Regions from separate parts of the Homo sapiens genome. Here regions 2, 3 and 4 are each linked to region 1. The links are contacts of gene promoters, found by promoter capture Hi-C in blood cells and fetal thymus (Javierre and others, 2016). All regions are on one chromosome and are shown on one strand. Each heading gives the region's core, a stretch centred on a gene start or on the middle of the fragment in contact. The rest is flanking DNA. Distances are from core to core; before and after follow the strand shown.

Region 1 (3,531 bases), core at 383-2,882:
ATTTTTGAGATGGAGTCTCCACCTCCTGGGTTCAACCAATTCTCCTGCCTCAGCCTCCTGAGTAGCTGGCATTACAGGCACCTGCCACCATGCCCGGCTAATTTTTTGTATTTTTAGTAGACACGGGGTTTCACCATGTTGACCAGGCTGGTCTCCAACTCCTGACCTCTGGTGATCTGCCCACCTCGGCCTCCCAAAGTGCTGGGATTACAGGCGTGAGCCACCGCACCTAGCCAGTCTTTGCACTTTATTAGTGGTCTCTCACAAGCTCTCACTTCAGGACCAGATGGGATACTCACCCTATGAAATGGCCTCTGGGAGCCCCAGTCTGGTGCTGGTTGGGGGGATTCACTTCTTGCATCACTCTCCAAGACCCCCCCAAAGATCCTGGGCTGGTGACTATCTGGATACTTAAGCATTGAGTCCCGAAGTGTCTGTCCCTCCCGTAGTCTCTCACCAGGTGTCTCTGACTCAGGACCTGGAAGTTCTGCAGAAAGGTGGCAGGTGTTTGCTGGGATGGGAAAGGACTTGGGCTCTATTAATCTCTCTGAAATCATCAGTCTTCTCACACTTCCCATCCCCCAGCTACTCCCTGCAGGCTCTTTATTTCACCCACCAACCCACCAGAAACCACAGGTTGCCCCTTAGGGAAAGCCACACACCAGGAGGATGGGAAGGCAAGGTCCAGGCCCCCATATCGCTGAAGATGCTATTGAAATCTCGTACTAGGTCATCAAAGCCGAAGTTATCGTGGAAACGTATCCCTCCTCCTGGGCTGAAGCTGAAGCCGAAGCCAAATTCCTCAGGGGGGTGCTGAGGACTATGGAACCTTGGGTTCCCACGGCCCCATGAGCCCCCTTCTTCTTCTTCTTCCTCATCATCATCTTCATCTCGAGTCATCCCTCCAAAAAAGGGATCTCTGTGGCTGAGAGTGGAGGCAGATTGGCCACCAATATTTCAGCACTATTTAAGCCATTAAATCAACTCATGGGTGGCAAAGTGGGACAAGAGCAAGGGGTCTGGGAAGCTAGGGAGAGGGTCGGAGGACTGGCTGCCACATCAAAACATTAATACAATGGCTGACAGTTCTTTTTTTTTTTTTTTTTTTTTAATCAAAGTCAGACCTCAGCTCGCAGCTCCCTTCATACACCTTCCCCCAGTTTTTCTTCAGTGTGCCCCAGTCCCTCCTCTCTCTCCCAAGGTCCTGCTCACTTGCTCACTGTCTTATTCCCCAGACCCTCACGGTCTTCCCCGCCCGGGTCCCTGTTGCATCACCCCAGGTTGGAGAAAGGCTTAGTTTGCTGTTTCTCCTCTTAATGACCGCCTTGGTTACTGTGGCGGGGTGAGTGTTCAATGTTGCGACTTCTGTCCTCTCTGCAGGAGTTGAAGGAGTGGGACAGAGGATGTTTTTCCAAAAATAAGACGTAGGGGTCAAGCTCCCCTCAGACGACCCCCACCCTTGTCCGAGCCGGACCTACTCTCACCTCCGAGGTCCAGGAAAGCCGAAAAAGCCCCGGAAGAGATCAAAGAGGCTCATTCCCGTACTGGGACGCGAACCTTTGAACCCCTCCAGTGGTCCATTCGCAGACGGGGGAAACCTGCGCAGCCCTGTGAGAAATTGAGCGAGGCGTCAGCCCACGCTACCGGAAAGCAAGCCCGCGATCCTGACACTGTCGTAAACGACGGTAAGCCGGACGTGAAATGGAGGCGGGACCGAAGGTCTTCCTCAAATTTGAAAGGCTTTATCTTTACCCCACCTTTCAGAGACCAGTTTCCGTGACGGGAGTGGGCGTGACGCACTTTCAGTTTCCTATGACCGCCTTCCTCCTAAATCTGTTCTTCTTTCTGCAGACCAACTCAGTACGAAAAGCGATTTCGAGGGTTTGACTCTGGATGGCACCCGGATAAAGCCGCCAGAGGGCAGCCCAGCCGCACAAATGGACCGGCTTGAGGGCGTCCCTCAACCACCCCACCCGCGGGGCTGGCCAGCCTCACAGCAGAAGCCACCTCGCTCCTTACTCGGGCGTTCTTTTTGACTGACCTGGGCGATGTCTGCTGTTAGAGGGATGAACAAAATGCTTTTCCAAGCTCCTTCTAGTATTGAATTTCCCAGAGAAGAGATCAAGACATAAGAGACGCATGGACTTAACTTCCTCCACCTCTCTAGCTACTAGGGAGTTTGTTATAACTATATAGAATTCTTTTTTCTAAGCAGGCTCTGCAACCAGCAAGACAAAGGATTTTTAAGAAAGCAAGGGAAGGGAAGCTAGTTGAGTCCTGAGAAGGAACAAATTGGGGGTTATAAAGAAATATCCCTTTGGTATCTTTTTTTTTTTTTTTTTTTTTTTTTTTTTGAGACAGAGTTTTCTCTCATGTTTCCCAGGCTGGAGTGCAGTGGCACCATGTCGGCTCACTGCAACCTTCGCCTCCCAGGTTCTCTCCTGTCTCAGCCTCCCGAGTAGCTGGGATTACAGTCATGCGCCTCCACGCCCGGCTACTTTTGTATTTTTTGTAGAAACGGGGTTTCACCATGTTGACCAGGCTGGTCTCGAACTCCTGACCTAAGGTGATCCGCCCAACCCAGCCTCCCAAAGCGCCTGTCCTCATTCCTTTTTAAAAGTGTTTTGTTCAAAACCTCTCCGAGACCTGTCTCTCCCTGTACCCCATCCCCAAGCCAGACCTTGCTCTAGATTCTTTTTCAAAGAATTGGGTATAGCTATGTCACAGAGAAGCATCCAAGAAGCCACTACTACAGTAGTCCATTCCTAGGGGGAATGGGCCCCAAGGTTTTGTTTTTTTATTTCGTTTTTGGGGTACAGGTGGTGTTTGGTTACATGGATGAGTTCTTTAGTGATTTCTGCGACTTTAGCGCACCCATCACCCGAGCAGTGTACACTGTACCCAATATGTAGTCTTTCATCCCTCACCCCACTCCAAGATTTAGTTCTGCCAGACGATACATGTTGCCTTCACTTCTTTTTAGTTTATTTGCCTGGACCCATCTAAGTCATACTTAAAACTCTATAAAGCATTTTTTTTCTTTGAAATGGTCTCAGCTCCTTCTTGATCCTCTCCATTTTCCACCCAATCTCCTCTATCCCTCTCCCTTTACTGCCTGAAATCGGCTGTAGATGTAGCAGTTTCTGGAGGAAATGAAGATTTGTGGTGGTTCTTTCCAGTCACCAGGTTGTGAAAGTCTTAGGGGTGAGGGGAAGGAAATCCCCTCAAGGACAAGATACTACTACCACATTAAGGTCAGGAGTTCTTAAAGGGCGAAGATTTCATTTTATTCCACTGCCTTCAGGGGCCTGCTAGAGGAGGCCCAGTTGGTACAGTAATACTTATTCACCAAGCTGGTCATCGACGAAATTGAGGATGTCCTAGACGGAGCAAGAATAGGCAGAGGCTGAAGGTAGAGGTTTTCTTTTTATATATACAAGACACATTAATCCATTAAATTTGAGGACACAGTACAAAAAAAAAAAAAAAACAAAAAAAAAACCACTTCAACTAATTCATCTGACAATGCTG
Region 2 (3,531 bases), core at 542-3,041, 1.7 Mb before region 1:
TATGTTTCCTGGGTACCCAGGCTGGAGTGTGGCCCTTTAAGATTCTATCCATAGCTTGCAGCACCCTCCTGCCCCAGGCCTGGGAGAGAAGCTGAGGTCCCACCCCAGATCTTGTCTCTGGGCCTCCAGTGGGTGGAACCTTGAGGCCAAGATTCTAGCCTCTGGCTGTCTGTTTTTAAATTTAGTACATTCCTGAGTCTTGGCTGCCCACCTCAGGGGAGGTGAGTCTGGAGTTCTGGGGCCAGGAGCCTCAGGCCTCTTGGTTTGGGGGAGTTCCTACACCCTCCCCGTAGGTATACTTGGCAGGTGCAAGCCAGGAAGAACAAGCTGTGGCCCTGGGGAAGTCCTTCCTGCTTTCTAATGTCCATCCAGCCTGAACTGGGCACGGTTTATTTCCTCTTCCTTTTTCCTGGTCTTTGCTATTTAAGGATTCTAAACAGGGGAATGGGTGAAGAAGGAGGTGAAGGAGTTGCTAGGAAGGAGGGGAAGCCGGAGGGGCAGTGTGGGGGTAGTGCTGGGGGTGAGGAGCCCAACCAGCTCAGCCAGTGGTGAGGTAGTGGAGCCCAAAAATAGTGGCAGAGGCTAAAATTGGCACCTACAAGAGTGCTGAGTTGGGCTTGAAACCTGCAGCCTGGCCCCACTGCTGAGCCAGGGCAGAGAACTGCTGGATCTGGGTTGGGTCTCCCCTCCCTCCCTTCTTCTCCCACGCCCTTTGGGGCCAGAATCAGGCAGGACCCTGCTAACCGAAGGCTCTGTCCCAGGCCTCTCTGTGCTTCTGGTTTCTCCAGAGAAATGGGAGACCCTGAGAGGCAGAAATGAACTTCACTGTAAGTGATCATAGTTAGACTGGAGGAGGAATTTTCCCAATAGCAGGAAACTCACCCAAAGGCTGGCTCAGGCTGGGGAAAAGGGTCCAGAGAGATGAATGCCCCACCTTACCCTGCTTCTTGGGGAGAGGCTGGTTGGGCCCTAACTTTCTTTGACTAGGGCAGGCTGGTTTCTGGTCTTTCAGTTCCGGCTTAACTTGCAACAGAGAGAACTGCAGTTAGACACATGGAAGGCCTTCGGTAAAAGTGGAGAATCCCAACCTAGTCCCCCAAAGTAGCTGGCAGAGGCGGAGCTAGGAGGAGGGCAGAGTGGGGTCAGGAAGGCCCCAGAAGGGTGGGGCATGTGGGAGAATTCTCTCCTCTCTGTTCTTCGACCTCTGGGAGTGAATCCTACCCTTCCCGTGTACTGAAGATCCAGCGTTTAGTTCTCCTTTGATTTCCTCTCCCTCTGGCCACCCCTGCCCCCAATCGTAAAAGGGGTCAGTCTGCTCAGGCCTGCTTTGATGGGACCCCGAAGGCCAGGAAGGAACTGGTCCTGGGTTTTCTAAGAGCTGGGGGCGGATGGAATTCTCCTGCCTGCGGGTCTTTAAAGACTGAGGTAACGCAGTAGGGGAGGGAAAAAGGGAGGGCGAGGGGAGAAGGGAAGAAGGGGAGGGCAGAGGGGAAAGGGCCAACCTGGGTCCGGCGAGGGCTGCGGGGCTGGGTTTTAGGAAAAGAAGAGCTAAGAGGCGGGTCTCTGGGGCTAGAGGGCGCCCCCAGGCGCTGGAGGGGAAATAGGCAGAGGGGCCTCTCAAACCTGTCCTAGGACCCTCGTACCTCTCCGAGCTGCCCCCACACAAACCCTGGCGTCCCGTCCTGCGCGCGGGCACCCCGCCCTCCCTCCGCTCCGCCTACCCCCTTCCTGAGCTTGGGCGGGGGAGGAGACTCGGGTTTGAGGAACTGGTGCTGGGTGCCGGGCGAGGGGAGTCAGACTTCCTGTCCCCGAGACCAACGCGTGCGGGCCGAACCCCTCCCCCCGCCTTCCCCCAACAATACAGGACGCCGGGGTCCGCGCCGCGTCCTCCCTGGTCCCCCCGTCCGATTATGTCTCGGATCGAATCCCTCACGCGGGCGCGGATCGACCGGAGCAGAGAGCTGGCGAGCAAGGTGGGCTCGGAAACCCCTCTCCTTTCGCCGCGGTCCTCGGGTGCTCCCCGAACCCCGGCACCCGCGGTGCATCTCCTGTCTCCCCGCCTGCTTTCTGGGCGCCAAAATCGGGCGGAGCGGTGGATCGGCGAGCGGCGGGACGGGGTGGGTGGGGACTGCGAGCGAGTGGGTAGGGGTGGGGGGAGCGGCAGACGCGACGGTGCTGGGATCCCGGGAGGGAGCGGAGCGGACCTGGGCTTGGTCGCCTCCAAGCCGGCGGGACCGAGTGCTTTAGGCCGCTTGAAAGAAAGTTGCTCCGGTAAGGGACGGAGCGGGAAGAGGGAGGTGTGTGTCTCGCGGGTGGGGGCGGTGGAAGCTCCGGCACCTCCTCTCACCCCGGGCCCCACCGGCTTGGGCTTGGCGTGGCGACCCCCCATCACTCCCCAATCGCTGGCTTGGTCGTTCCCCCTTTGTCCCCGCCATCCGGCGGAGGGGACGGGAGGGGGTGGTTTCCCGGCTTCCTCCCACCACCACCACCACCCCTCCAAGACAAAAGTCAGCTCCTCCTCTCCTCGCAAATGGACTTTCCAGCTGTGATTCAGTTCTCCCCTCTGGGTGGGCGGGTGGCTGGGGTCGGGACGGCCGAGGGACGGCTTACTTCCCCCAAACCATCACCTCTAGGTGAAGGGAGCAGAGGTCTTTGTGTAGCTGGGCTCCTTTCCTCCATCCTGAGCCCTTCTGCCTGGAACATAGGGCCTCCATCCCTATCTGCCCCGCCAGCCTCCTAGCTCTTCCTTCTCCCAACCTGAAACCCTTAGGCTGACACACCTGGCACTATGCATTGTGTTCCCTGCCCTTCCTCCTCCTCCCCCAGCGCTCTCATTCTCTTATCTGCTCGTCTTGGGGTCCCTTCACCTAGCATTTCATGAGTCTGGGTGTATAATTATCCACACGCCTCCCCCATCATGACCTCTTGGCCACTCCTCTCCAAGTACCCTTTATCCCTGCCTTTGTACCCAGCCCCATTCCCAAGTGCCCTGACCTTTCCACACCCAGACCCCAGGAAATGATGAAGCTGACTTGCAGGTGAATAAGTCAGAGCTGAAAGGAAGGTGGTGCCTGCAGACAGCACCTCCCAGCTCCTTTGGGGCCCCCGCACTGTACCCATTATCAGAAAGGACAGGTCCCAGCCCAGAGTTGGTTTAATCTCTGGCTTCTCTCCAACCTGAGTGCCCTACTACCCTGGTGCCAGCCTATGCTGATCACCAACTTCAGCCAAGGGAGCAGTACCCCTTAGGAGTCCTTAAGGGTGATGGAAAGCCCTCCCCTCCACCTCCCTGGTAGTTCCTAGCCAGGCTACCTGTCTTGATGCTAAACTGGGAGAGACAGAGGTTCCATCCTGGGTTGGGGGTGGAGGGCCAGGGAAAGCAGCTTTAAAAGGACTTTCCTTAGGGGGTTGGGATTAGATTTTGCTATCTGGAAAGCAACTGGGGATTCGAGTAGGGCCTAAGACAAACAGAGGGCCGGGGTGAGGTGGCTGAAGTGTGGTGGAACAGTGGGGTGGCAGACAGGCTCTTCA
Region 3 (3,531 bases), core at 744-3,243, 1.7 Mb before region 1:
TCTGAGGTCTCTGCTTTTCTGGCTCTACCTGCAGCCTGTTCTCCCAGCCCCCTCCCCTCTTTAATCGCTCACCTCCCTTCACCCCACCCATGTCTTTGACTTGTCATTATCTTCACTTCTTTCAAATCCTGATTTAAAGGGAGACACACAGGCACTCCCGTCAGCACCAGGGTTTTACACCCAGGGCCTGGCAGGTGCTGGAAATTCCAGCAATACCCCACACCTGGCATCCCTTCAAGGGAACTACAGCTTTTGCAGCTGAGGCCTCTGCAGGCAGCAAGTTTCAGTGGTCACCACTGAGATGGTAAGGTGAGGACAGGGGAAGCTGGCATTTTTGGCCTTGATACCGGAGAAAGACAAGGGATACCCTGTTTTGAGGTGGGGGGTGGGTACAGAGAGAGATGGGCACTGACCTCTGATTCATTAGCCTAGAACCCTTAGGGAAGTTTTCCTAGGTATTCTTGCAGAAAGCAGAAATGGAGCAACGAATCCTTTTGTTCCATACTGAACTGGAGGTGGAACTGGGATAAAAGGTCAAGACAATTTGTGGATAATCCAGAGGTTTATTCTCAGATCCTCTTCTTTCCCATCTCCAAATAAAGACTTAAGCTTTGTCACATCCAGCTCTGATCTGAGCCCCCGCCTCCCCCATTCACCACACCCAGAGTTGGGGATCAAAGATCAGACTTTTCCCTGAGGGCACTGCAGCCTGGCAGAGAGGGCAGCTTCTCCCCAGGACTCAAGGATCCTACACTTGGTGGATCTCAGAAAGAGGAGTGTGTTCAGCTTGCGCCCTTCACCCGGGTGTCCCTCTGTCCAGGTTGGTGAGCAGGGTAGAAGGGCGGCTCTCCCGGGGGTTGCTTGCGACCCACCGCCTGCCTACCTGCTTTAGGGCCACCTGTTGCACCCAGCCTCCGCCCTGGGGCCACAGCCTCAACCGCAGATCCCTGAAGGTGCCTGCCAGAGCCTGCCGGGGCTCCCGCCTCAGGAGACAGTACAGCACAGGGTTGAGGCAGCTATTGCTGTGTGCCAAGCAAGTAGTGACAGGGAAGACATACGTCTGGATAGTATAGAAAGTACTGTTCCAGGGCACCAGGTCAAACTTCACCAGGACACCCCAGAGAGTGACCACATGGTTGGGAAACCAGCAGAGGAAGAAGGAAGCCACCAGGATGCGGACAGAGCGGGCCACGACCCTGCTGTCCTGCCGCCGCCGTTGCCGCCGCTGCAGGAAGGCCAGCAGCAGCAGGTAGCTGGTGGTGATGACGCCCAAGGGCACCATGAAAGCCAGCACCACCCTCTGCAGCTGGTAGGCCCCCAGCCAGTACCTGCTGGGGAAACGCAGCAGGCAAAGGCGCACACCACACACCTCACCCTCCACCCCGAAGACAGCTGTGGGCACCGTCACCAGGGCAGCCGCCGCCCACACTGCCAGGGTGGCTATTCGGGCCCAGAAGAGTGAGAGGTGGGTGCCTGGCCCCGCAGCCATGGCCACCACCCAGTAGCGAGCAACGCTCAGCGCTGTGATGAGGAAGATGCTGGCATAGACGTTGAGGACAGTGGCCGTCAGAACCATCTTGCAGAGGGCACCTCCGAAGGGCCAGTGAAAGTCCAGTGCCGACTCGGCTGCCCAAAAGGGGAGAGTGAGTGCCAGTCCCAGGTCCGCCAGAGCCAGGTTGAAGACGAAGGTGTCTGAAGGTGGGCCAGGGGCTCTCCGGGCACAGTTACTCAGTACCCACAGCACCGCCAAATTTCCCAGCAAGCCAATGGCCCCCACAAGCCCATAGGCCAGGGCAACCATGAGCCTCAGGGCTAGGAATTTGACAGGCATCGGAGCATCATCAGCACTCAGCACACTGCCTCCGGAGGCATTGGCCCAGAAGAATGTGGGTGGAGAGGCAGAAGTATTGAGTGTGGGCATCGCAGGGCATCAGAGATTGGTGGTGCTGAGAAGAGAGGTCTGCAAGTGTCTGCCAGACTGGCAGAGGCCACTGAAGGCTCTAGGAAGGAGGCTGTAGAATTAAGTGCTTCTCTGGGGCCTCTGGTGAGCCCTGGCCCACGCCCACACCTCAGAGGGAGGGGTGTGGAAAGGACAACCCACCACCTTCCTGTTGGTCAAGATTGGTGGTAGGTGGGGCAGGGCGAGGCACAGCCTGAATGCCAGGGTATATGTGCATGCGCCCGCCTGTAAGAGGGGCTCTAAATGGCAGAGAGGGAGGGGAGAAGGGAGAGTTACCCCGCTATGGAGGGCAGCCCCAAGCCTCCACCCCAGGGAGAGAGCTGGAGGTTCCCTGTCCCAGAGATGACAGGAACCAAACTAGAGCTGCCTCTGTTCCTAACAGTGCAGAGGCCTCCCTCCTCTGCAGAAAGTGTTCCCTTGGGGCCCAAAGCAAGGGGCCTGGGAGGTGGCATAGAGGCAGGGAATCAGCATGGGTGTCCAAGAGAGGAAAGAGCGGAGGCTGCGGAGTCCCAGACCTGCTGCTCACTAGCCGTGTGACTGGGAGAGTTACTTTACTCCCCTAAGCCTGTTTTCTTGCTTAAAATTTTCAGGTAAGTCTGCTTCACAGGAGTGGCATGATGCAATGAGAGAACACATGTGAAATAGCAATTTGTATGAATATTATTTCAAAGGAGAAGTTTGGGGTGTTTGTGGCAGAAGGGTACTGAGAGGCTATTACCATGCCCAGGGAACAGTGCCAACTAAAACAGGTTGGAATTCATCTCAGCAGCAGTGACCTTGAGGCTAAGAGCAGGGAGGGAAAAGAGAGAGGAAGTCACAGCTTCCTGTTTCCTCCCCACTGGGAACACTGGGCCTATGAGGGCCTGTGTGGACCTGGGCATGCCCTCAGTTCTGTTCCTGCTCCTGATAATTAAACATTCCTGCTAACCTCTATCGCCGCCTTTCCCCCCTTTCCTGCTCTAGTCTGTGGACAGAGCTCAGCGGTCCCCCTACTCTCTCCTGCAAACCCCATGTCAGAGCTAAGGATCCTGAGATACGCCCTCACCACACCTCATCCTGTCTCCCCATGATCTCAATCATAACTGGAAAAAAAAAATGCTTCATTGGGCCCTCCCCTTTCATTGCCTACATCTCTACCTACTGCAGAAGGAGCTGAGGTGGGGACAAAGAGAAGGCAGGAGGTGGATAGGTAAAAGAGTAAGGCTTTCTCAAGGATTCCAATATATTCAGCCCCTTCTTGCCCTCTGCCAGCTAATTAAGATAACGTTCGATGTTCAGTTCCTTTGGAGTGCTGAGGGAAGAGAGGGGCCCTTTGCGACAATAAATCAGCAGTGGGCTTGTGAACACATAGGAGAAACCCAGAGGTGAGAGTGATACAGGCTGGGTGCCAACATGTTGGGGCTTTCGAACCAGGGATGAGTATAAAGGGGGTGGCAGAAGGGGAGTGCCCAGCCCAAGGTCAGGTGAGCCCCACAGGCTACCTTCTGGCCTCATGGCTGCTCCTGTGTGACTGTGTCATCACTGTCTCTCGGGGCCATGTCTACTCCTCTGCCCACCCAGAATCACCCTGC
Region 4 (3,531 bases), core at 1,032-3,531, 1.6 Mb before region 1:
GGAAGAAGACTCCGCCTCTTCCGAATGGTCCTCGGAAGAAGACTCCGCCTCTTCCGAAAGATTACGGAAGTCAGCCCTCGCCCCCTTCAGGAAGCTCTCCCGGAGGGGACTCCTCCCACCGCCGAGTTTTCCCGAGAATGAGGCCGCGCCCACTGACGCGCTGTGGTTCCAAAACGAGAAAGTACTGAAGGGTAAGAAGCATAGGTAGATTATTATATGAAATCCTCTGATTTCAGTTTTCTGGGCTTTAATACAGCAGCAAAATGTTCTCGGTCCTGAGTTCCAGAATTTTGGGAAAATAAAATTCTGTACTGCCTGGATTTCAGTATCGACTGCCATCATTATGCATTTCTGAGACCGCTAAAGGTTATTACAGAACTTTTTTTTTTGGCTTATATTTCACAGTGGATGGAAACTGTCTTAAACCTCAGAAACTCTGATGAAAGACCAAACCTGGGGATGGTTGCACAACTCTGAACATTTACTAATTTTAAAAAAACAGCCGGGCACGGTGGCTCATGCCTGTAATCCCAAACCTTTGGGAGGCCAAGGCGGGCAGATCACTTGAGGTCAGGAGTTCGAGACCAGCCTGGCCAGCATGGTGAAACCCCCATCTCTACTAAAAATACAAAGATTAGCCGGGCGTGGTGGCACACGCTACTTGGGAGGCTGAGACACGAGGATCGCTTGAGCCCAGGAGGTGGAGGTTGCAGTGAACCGAGATCGCGCCACTGCACTCCAGCCTGGGCAACAGAACAAGACTCCGTCTGAAAAAAAAAAAAAAAAAAAAATTTGGTTGTACACGTAAAACAGATGGATATTGTGGTATGCAAAGCTGTTTAAAAAAAAAAAAAAAAACAACTAATGAAAAGTGCCAAAGTTAATCAGTGTTGAATTTTTTTCATGAACCTCAAGTGCTTAGGGTTTCGTATGAGAGAGGCCAAACCGAAAGATCTGTGTATTCTGTAGGTCAAAGAACAACACACATGAAACTCCGAGCTTCTGGAGTCTTCCTTGGTATTTGGGAGAGTTGGTGTGATTCAGGTTAGTCAGACTACTGCCATGTTTGCATAAATTTCAACCTTCATTTTGGCTGTGGATAATTTCATCCGTTGGATTCTGTTTACAGATAGGATTAGTTCAAATGTATAAATTTGTGTTGGTGGTTTACCTGTAAAATGAGGGGGTTGAAAGTATTTTTCCACCTTTTGACATTCTGTTTTTTATTATTTTTTTAATCTCCGTGGATTCCAGACATTGTTTTTCTAGAAAAGTGGAAATAACATCATTTTAGAAGTCATTCATTCATTCGCTCATTCAAAAAGCACGTATTGAATTATTGAACATCTGTTACACCCCAGGCAGCCTCCTGGACACTGGGTCAATGCATTATTAGCTAGAGTTAGGAGACTTAATACCTGATTCTCCTTGATAGCTGTCTGTGTACCGTTGTGAAATCACCTACTCAGATGAGCCAGAACTTTGTCCTGTGCAAACTGGAATATGATATAATAATCTTACAGTCTATTGTGGAGACCAAGTCACCTAAGAAAATGTGAGAGCATTTTGTAAAATGCAGAATATTGTACATATATGAATAATTACTATAGCCTGAGTCCAAGAGTGCCTTAGTTTTAATCAGGAGCCTGCACTATTTGTAATTTAGAGACTTCTTTTTCTGGCATTTTATGACTTCTTCAGTCCCTTGGTCCTGTGTTCCAGGTGACTCGTAGTGAGAAAAATTAGTTGTTAATCTTTTTTTTTTTTTGATACAGAGTCTCACTGTCGCTCAGGTTGGAGTGCAGTGGCACGATGCCGGCTCACTGCCACCTCCGTCTCCCGGGTTCAAGCGATTCTCCTGCCTCAGCCTCCGGAGTAGCTGGGATTACAGGCGTGCGCCACCACGCCCAGCTAATTTTGTATATTTAGTAGAGACGGGGTTTCACCATGTTAGCCAGGGTGATCTCGAACTCCCGACCTCAGGTAATCCGCCCGCCTCCGTCTCCCAAGGTGCCGGGATTACAGGCGTGAGCCACCGCGCCTGGCCCCCAAATTAGCTGTTAATCTAAACCACTGAATCTTAACCTCAGTTTTGAGTAGGATAACTCCATGGGCAGAGAAAGCTAAGTAGTGCCTTTAAATTTTTTTGCCAATAACTGACGCACTAACGTTGTGGCTTCACTCTGCCCTAAAATGGGATGGCGCATAGTGTTAGGCGCATGCTCCTTGATGCACTGCGGCGCGGCGCTCCGAGGCTCGGGGACGCGCACGCAATTCGCTGTTGTTGGCTGACTTCCGGTGGTGCCAAAGCCGTTTCCGTGGAATCAGGCCGGCTGGTGAGGGTACAGGTTTGTGTGTGGTGGGGTGGGAAGAGGCAGGTGGGAGCTGGGACACCTGGACGAACGATGTCCAGGTTGAGAAGGTCGGGTCTGAGGGTGGGCGCTGGGTGCGTGGCGGAAGTTAAGGGCGTGAAGTCCAGTGTCTAGTTGGGAATGGGGACTGGAGCCAGCCCTGGGCACCGAGGTGGAAGCGCGGTTAGGACCCCTTTTGAAAATGTTTTCCTAGGAGAGGGCCGTGCCGGGGCTGCCTCCACATTGGCATTCATTCACCCTGCTGGTCCGACTTGGGTTCCCAAAAAAGTGGATTCTGTCGAGCTACTGCTGTGTTTGAGGTGCCTGGAGCTGAAGTAGCTGTCTTTCTTTCCTTCTTTTTCTTTCTTTCTTTTTCTTTTTTTCCCCTTTTTTTGATCTCAGTAATTATCTGTGAAATAAAAGAGCTGCCCTGGCTACTCCCATTCTATTTCTTATAAGGTCACCACCATCTCTCACAGGAATCAACGAAATCTTCATGTTTTATTGAGCTTTAGTTACTGAGTTTTAATTACATCAGTTGATTGAGGGGATGGAGAATCTCCCCTAATGTCTTGGAGAAACAGAAGGGAGGTTTAAAACTAACTGTAGGTCGGGCGCGGTGGCTCACGCCTCTAATCCTAGCACTTTGGGAGGCTGGGGCGGGAGGATCGCTTGAGGCCAGGAGTTTGAGACCAGCCTGGGTAACAAATCGAGACCCCGTCTCTACAAAAAAAAAAAAAGAAAAAAAGTCGTTGAGGGTGGTGGCAAGTGCCTTGTAGTCCTAGCTACTCGGGAGGCCGAGGCCAGAGGGTCACTGGAGCCCAGGAGTCTGAGGCTGCAGTGAACTAGGATCTTGCCACTGCACTCCGGTCTGGGCAACAGAGCGAGACCTTGTCTCTGGAAAGAAAGAGAGAGAGAGAGAAAGAAAGAAAAGAAGAAAGAGAAATCTAACCTTAGACGCTTAGAGTTACAAATAACTTTTATTTTTCAGTTCTCTAGTTCAGGCTTTCATCTAGTACTCTGATAAGTGGACATTCAGGCTTCGCTTGAACATTGCCAGTGATCTAACACAAGGCGGCTTATTCTATTATTGGATCTATTTATGACAGTAAAGTTTTCCTGGGTAATAAGATGCCTTTTTTTTTTTTTTTTTTTTTTTTTTTTGACAGAGTCTCCCTCT

The links. Contacts are between HindIII fragments. The CHiCAGO score rates a contact against its expected background, and 5 or more counts as called.
Region 2: the fragment with the promoter of ARHGEF2 here is called in contact with the fragment with the promoter of HAX1 in region 1 in 1 of 17 cell types (neutrophils); the score reaches 5.2 in neutrophils.
Region 3: a contact is called between the fragment with the promoter of RXFP4 here and the fragment with the promoter of HAX1 in region 1, in 5 of 17 cell types (total CD4 T cells, neutrophils, fetal thymus and 2 more). The highest score is 9.3, in total CD4 T cells.
Region 4: a contact is called between the fragment with the promoter of GON4L here and the fragment with the promoter of HAX1 in region 1, in 1 of 17 cell types (neutrophils). The highest score is 5.6, in neutrophils.

The regions. Positions count from the first base shown.
Region 1 is chr1:154,270,730-154,274,260 of GRCh38, reverse strand. It overlaps HAX1 (HCLS1 associated protein X-1), which reads right to left and starts at 1,632. Exons shown (of 7, transcript NM_006118.4): 1 at 1,485-1,632; 2 at 663-925; 3 at 300-487. The coding sequence starts at 1,537. It overlaps UBAP2L (ubiquitin associated protein 2 like), which reads right to left. Exons shown (of 27, transcript NM_014847.4): 27 at 3,414-3,531. RefSeq lists an enhancer at 1,569-1,738 and a silencer at 1,876-2,016. The HindIII fragment of the contact is 9,202 bases long and covers 1-3,531 here.
Region 2 is chr1:155,976,807-155,980,337 of GRCh38, reverse strand. ARHGEF2 (Rho/Rac guanine nucleotide exchange factor 2) reads left to right here and starts at 1,791. Exons shown (of 22, transcript NM_001162383.2): 1 at 1,791-1,973. The coding sequence starts at 1,911. It overlaps ARHGEF2-AS2 (ARHGEF2 antisense RNA 2), which reads right to left and starts at 1,699. Exons shown (of 3, transcript NR_183460.1): 1 at 1,644-1,699; 2 at 883-1,018. RefSeq lists enhancers at 597-646, 34-655, 1,117-1,186, 3,317-3,396, 3,513-3,531 and silencers at 1,527-1,576, 1,637-1,796. The HindIII fragment of the contact is 25,844 bases long and covers 1-3,531 here.
Region 3 is chr1:155,940,100-155,943,630 of GRCh38, reverse strand. RXFP4 (relaxin family peptide/INSL5 receptor 4) reads right to left here and starts at 1,993. Exons shown (of 1, transcript NM_181885.3): 1 at 544-1,993. The coding sequence starts at 1,921. The coding sequence ends at 797. RefSeq lists an enhancer at 1,440-1,939 and a silencer at 2,259-2,553. The HindIII fragment of the contact is 9,136 bases long and covers 612-3,531 here.
Region 4 is chr1:155,855,964-155,859,494 of GRCh38, reverse strand. It overlaps GON4L (gon-4 like), which reads left to right and starts at 2,281. Exons shown (of 32, transcript NM_001282860.2): 1 at 2,281-2,348. RefSeq lists enhancers at 1-87, 1,328-1,915, 2,202-2,401. The HindIII fragment of the contact is 10,340 bases long and covers 1-3,531 here.